Regions from separate parts of the Homo sapiens genome. Here region 2 is linked to region 1. Evidence: promoter capture Hi-C in human tissues and cell types (Jung and others, 2019). All regions are on one chromosome and are shown on one strand. The core of a region is centred on a gene start or on the middle of the fragment in contact, and the rest is flanking DNA. Distances in the headings are between cores, read along the strand shown.

The links. Contacts are between HindIII fragments. The study calls those that stand out against the background at their distance.
Region 2: a contact is called between a fragment that was not itself captured here and the fragment with the promoter of ANO7 in region 1, in 2 of the 25 tissues and cell types used here (bladder and pancreas).

The regions. Positions count from the first base shown.
Region 1 is chr2:241,187,351-241,190,050 of GRCh38, forward strand. ANO7 (anoctamin 7) reads left to right here and starts at 1,327. Exons shown (of 25, transcript NM_001370694.2): 1 at 1,327-1,416. It overlaps LOC105373971 (a long non-coding RNA gene), which reads right to left and starts at 1,072. Exons shown (of 3, transcript XR_924064.3): 1 at 926-1,072. RefSeq lists enhancers at 597-1,281, 1,282-1,965. The HindIII fragment of the contact is 24,444 bases long and covers 1-2,700 here.
Region 2 is chr2:241,323,514-241,326,347 of GRCh38, forward strand. SEPTIN2 (septin 2) reads left to right here. Exons shown (of 13, transcript NM_004404.5): 2 at 703-728; 3 at 2,480-2,600. The coding sequence starts at 720. Among named protein-coding and RNA genes, the nearest start is that of SEPTIN2, 9.0 kb to the left of the region's middle. The HindIII fragment of the contact is 3,359 bases long and covers 1-2,834 here.

The DNA.
Region 1 (2,700 bases), core at 77-2,576:
TGCTGGTGCTGACAGGGAACCCGGCCTGCAGGGCCTTCCCGCTGTTCCGAGGCACAACACAGGTCCAAGAACAGGGCCCCTTGGGAGGTGCCAAGCACAGAGGGGCATAGGTATAAGGGAAAGCTGCAGCCAGGATGAGGGTCCGCCTGGAGGGATTTCAACAGGCAGAAGGGGGCACCTGGAACAGCAAGCTGAGCTTGGGGCTCCCCAGTGCAGTTGTGCATGGAGGGCGAGGAGCACGGGTGGTAGGTTCTCAGACACTGCCAGGCACCAAGGAGGAAAGGGGGAGGGGGAGGGAGAGGGGAAGAGGAGGGGCGGGGAGAAAGGATAGGAGGAGAAGGAGGAGGAGAGGGAGAAGTGGGGGGAGGGGGAGAAACAGGAGGAGGGGAGTGGGGAGAAAGGAGGAGAAGGAAGAGGAGAGGGAGAAGTGGGGGGGAGGGGGAGAAACGATAGGAGGAGGGGGAGTGGGGAGAAAGAGGAGGAGGAGGAGGAGTTGGGGGGAGAAATGATAGGAGGAGAGGGAGAGGGGAGAACGGATAGGAGGAGAAGGAGAGGGAGGAGTAGGGGGGAGAAACAATAGGAGGAGAAGGAGGAGAGGGAAGGTGGGGAGAAAGGATAGGAGGAGGGGGAGAAAGGAGGAGGGGGAGGAGGGCTAGGAGGAGAAAGAGGAGGGCTAGGAGGAGAATGAGGACGAGGAGGAGGGCGGAAAGGATGGGAGGAAGGCTAGGACCCCTCCTGTCCTTTTGCAGATGGGGCCCTGAGCATGGGATGTGCCTGAGGTCACCCCTCAGGCATTAGCAGAGCCAGCAGTGTGATCTGGGTCTCCCAATCTCCCCAGCCCCCGGGTGAAACCCTGGCCCACCACTCAGCACATGCTACGTAACCTCAAGGAGCCTCAGTTTCCCCCCACATAAACAGAGCTTACGAGGTCTGCCTGGCAAGGCTTCCAGCAGAGGTGGCACTTGTGGCTGTTCCTGTGGAATCCCACCTCCTCGAGACCCTCCAAGGCAGCAACTATGACAGCTGATGCCAGCCCTGAAATCTCTAAGCAAATAAGGTTCCCAGGAGGACGGCAGCATTTGCATGCGGGTGTGTGAAAGCCCAGCCAAGTGGGCTGCCTCTGTCTGCAGCTCTGAGCCCCACACCCCCTATTTAAACAAAGATAGATCCTGCTCCAGGAGCCGGGAAGCCTTGCCCTGGCCAGCTGTGCTGGGCACCTCCCCTGCCTGCTTCCTGGCCCACTTGCAGGCAAGGTGAGGGCATGCGAATGGCTGCCACTGCCTGGGCGGGGCTCCAAGGGCCACCCCTCCCCACCCTCTGTCCCGCAGTGAGGACGGGACTCTACTGCCGAGACCAGGCTCACGCTGAGAGGTGGGCCATGACCTCCGAGACCTCTTCCGGAAGCCACTGTGCCAGGTGGGGACCCAGCCTAGACGTGTGGGCCACAGGGAGAAGGTGGAGCGTTGGACTCTAGGGAGGCAGGGCGGCACCCCAGCCCACCGGGACTTTCACACACCCTGGCCTGTGGGGAGGCAGTGCCAGGGCCCGCCCTGGTCCCCAAAGCCCCTTGGGGCACGAGGAGGGACACACACTCAGTGCGGCTCTGGACGGGGTACACCCAGCTGGGGTTGGCTTCCTGCCTGCCCAGGGGCTCCCCCATGGAGCAGGTCCCTTCGTTGGGGTGGGGGGCATCCCCATTCTTTCTGCAGAGAGCTCTGAGGAGGGGCCCGCCTGCCCACCACAGAAGGATGGGGGCATGAGGGGCTGCTGGGTGGCCGAAACTCCTCGGGGACTTTCCTCCAGGAACACCCCACAGTCCGTAGTGAGGCTCCCAGCCTGGGGCCGGGGCCGAGTCCTAACACTGAGACCTGGCTCGGGCTTCAGGGTTAGGCAGGTGCAGGCGGCCCAGGCTCAGTCTCTGTCCCTCTGGGCCTCCGCTAATGTGAAGTGAAGGGTAGAACTAGAAGGCTGCCCCTCCGACCTCCTGCGGCGCCTCCATGGTCACACCCTCCGGTCATCGTCGCAGCTCCAAATGCCAGCCCCAGCTCGAACCCTCTCCTTCCAGGGCCACAGATGTCGTGCTCCTGGCCCCGTTTTGCCAGCCCAAGACTAGGAGCCACGGCACCTGTCCTCCCACAGAGAGAGACCCCCGGGGCGAAGGTGCGGGAGGAAGCTGGGACCCCCAAGAGTTGTGAGGCCGGGCTCCATCAGGCCCGCCTTGCTGGGGAGCTCAGGGCCTATGGGTCCTGGCACTGGGTCCTCAGGCCATGAGCGAAGGCAGGCGACTTGAGGGGTTTCCTGTCCCTGGCTCACATGGCTCCACCCTACGGATAAGAGAGGGAGAGGTGTCTGTACTCCAGGCCCACCTTTCTGGGCCTTCTCAGGCTCCACTGAGTACCCAGGCAGAGTGGACGGCATTCAGGGCTGGGGGACACGGGCACTCACTGGATGGACAGACAGACGCCTGCTGTGCCAGGCCTGCCAGACGCTCCCGCCCCGGCACTGGTTTCTTCCTGGAGCTCGTGGCTGGCTAGGGGGTTCTCCATGTGCTCATGGCCAGGAGAGTCTGCCGAGCCAGCCCAGCCCCATTCTACTCCGAGTCGAGTCTGTAAAGTGAGCTCACTGCAGGCAGTGTGGTGGCCCCAGGAACGGGTCTCACCCATCCCCTCTCTGACCCCCATCCCCACCCGGCCTTGCTGG
Region 2 (2,834 bases), core at 167-2,666, 140 kb after region 1:
TCCCAAAGTGCTGGAATTACAGGCGTGAGCATCACGTCTGGCCTAATTTTTTTAATCGAATTTATTTTTGTAATGATAGATGCTTGTCTTATTCCTAGGGAAATATTTGAAGTAATTGAGATGCTGTCACCTAAAATAATCAAAAGGCTCCTGATTCAGTTAAAAGAATTCATTTAAGTACAGAGTGTAAGCGAGCTACACCAAAGAATGGTGATTAGCGCTCCCAGGGTGGGGAAAAATGAGGATTGTTTATATAGGCAAAATGGAGGTGCCAAACAGAATTATAACATTTTCGGAACTAAGGCTCATTTAAAGATACAAATTTGATTGGCTACTATTGATTACACTTGAAGGGATTTGTTTAACTTCCTTTTGTAAAGAAGTAACAGTCATAAGGATCTCTCATCTCCCAGTCATTTAGTCTAGTTTTGAATAAAGAATAGGGGGTCTGGTTAATATATACATCTAAACACAAAAGTCAGAAAGAATAAAAGTAGTGATGTTACACGAGCCAGCTGTCAGTGCTTAACTTTTCCCTTTGGCCTAATGCATTTGGAAGGTCCTGAAATTGTATTTTCTTTTTACATTGCCTATGTATGTGTAAGTCTTCTTCAGGTCAGTTCACGCTGTTAAATATACGTGCGTATACATACATACTATGTATGTGCGTTTATGTGTGTCTGTGTGTTTTTTTTTTAACAGACGAAGCTTCACAAAAGATGTCTAAGGTAAGATCATACTTCATGTATCTACAGCATAAGGAGAAATTGCTTTATGTTTTCAGACTGTTGACAGTCGGGACTTATATGATTCATTATTTTTAATACAACTGATACATTTGATTCATTAACACAAAGAGTTCTAATTTAGTTGTCTTTTTTTTTTTTTTTTTGAGACGGGAGTCTTGTTCTGTCACCAGGCTGGAGTGCAGTGGCATGATCTCAGCTCACTGCAACTTCTGCCTCCCACGTTCAAGCGATTCCCCTGGCTCAGCCTCCGGAGTAGCTGGGACTGCAGACACGTGCCACCACGCTGGCTAATTTTTTGGATTTTAGTAAATTCGGGGTTTCACCGTGTTGGCCAGGATGGCCTTGATCTGTTGACCTCGTGATCCACCCGCTTTGGCCCCCCGAAGTGTTGGGATTACAGGTGTGAGCCACCGTGCCTGGCCTAATTGTCATCTTAAAAGCTTGGAGCTTTCTCTTTTTTCAGGCTTCTACTTTCTTTTCTCTACACACATCAGTAACAGTCCTTTTGGCCCCCTTAGTTCATTCCCAGCAGACCAGATAATTTAGAATTCTGATAATTTATTATGATGAAATTGATGGGGCTCTTAGACTTGATAAATTGGTTTAAATCAGCCTTTGCAAGTTAGTTCAGAGATAAATTAGTGCTAAAGAACATATTCTGAGAAAAGCAGAACTTGTGGTTAACATTGCAAGATTATTATTTCTGTTTTTTTTTTATCTTTGAATCCTGTGGGTGTTCATTACTGTCCAATGCAAAATCATCATACCAGTTTTTGCATTTTATACCAGTGTTAGCATGGAACACAGATAAGCAAAAAAAAAAGTCATTATTTCACCACTCAGGAATAACCACTGTTAATATGTTACATATATTCTTTTTCACCTGTGTGTGCATTTGACTATACATTTACAAAATGTAATCCTAAAGGAAATACTATTTTGTATCTTGCCTTTTTCAATTAATAAATTGATTTTTAAAATTTCTTCTCATTTTCAGTATGCCACTGTCTAGATTCTGGTTACTTCTGCTATTCTTGCCTTCTCATATCTCTGTCCTCTCTCTCATCAGATACCCTTCTGTCAAGGAATATTGATGCTTCAGTGTAGTCATCTATGATCTTCTCATTCTGTCTTTTCTTTCTTGGTCTTTGACACTAGATACTCAACATCCCACCCCTAATTTGCCTGCCTCACCCTTGATGAAACTCTGTTCTATAGAGCTAGAAGCACAGCAAGAGAGATGCTTTTTTCCTCGATACTTTTCAGAAATGCATTGCACCTAATACCTGGGAGAAGCTATTCTTTAGCCAAGTTTGTTGAATGAAACCATTCATTCAAAGTACTGTCAGCTGTAGCAGTACTTTGTAAGCTTGACTGATTTTCCTGGAACTCCATAGTCTCTCAAGTCGAAATTTGAAATTGCATTAAGATGTATTAAGCATGTATCTTCTATGTATTGTTAAATTCCTAAACAGAATACTGATTAACAAAATGTTAATTTTCAGTCGCATACAACTAAGGAGTTATACTAGATAAGTTTTTCTTTTTTTAATGCTCCTAGTTGAATACTACTGGTTTTCTGATAGAAGTATGACCTTCTGGAAGTGTTTATACTTTTTAAAAAATTTGTGAAAACTGATAACCTATGTTTGTTTCATGTCTAACTGATTATATCTTAAAAGCAACTACTAAGGTGTTTATTAGTTTGTTTGTTTTTTAATCTTATTTAGCAACAGCCAACTCAGTTTATAAATCCAGAAACACCTGGCTATGTTGGATTTGCAAACCTCCCCAATCAAGTTCACCGAAAATCAGTGAAAAAAGGTTTTGAGTTCACACTGATGGTGGTCGGTAAGAAATTAATCTATAGTCTCCAACTTACTAAATAAATATCTCCCCTTTCCAATCTCTGGAGTATGATAACGTGACCTATAAAGAAAGAGGAAAATTTGGCAGAGTCAAATAACTTGAGAATTTGAACAAATATATGTGTATTCATTAGAAAATTTTTCTCAGGAGCAAAATTATTTTTCTGTCACTTTCTTATTTATATGTAGTGAAAGTTTACTCATTGTGTCAGCTAGG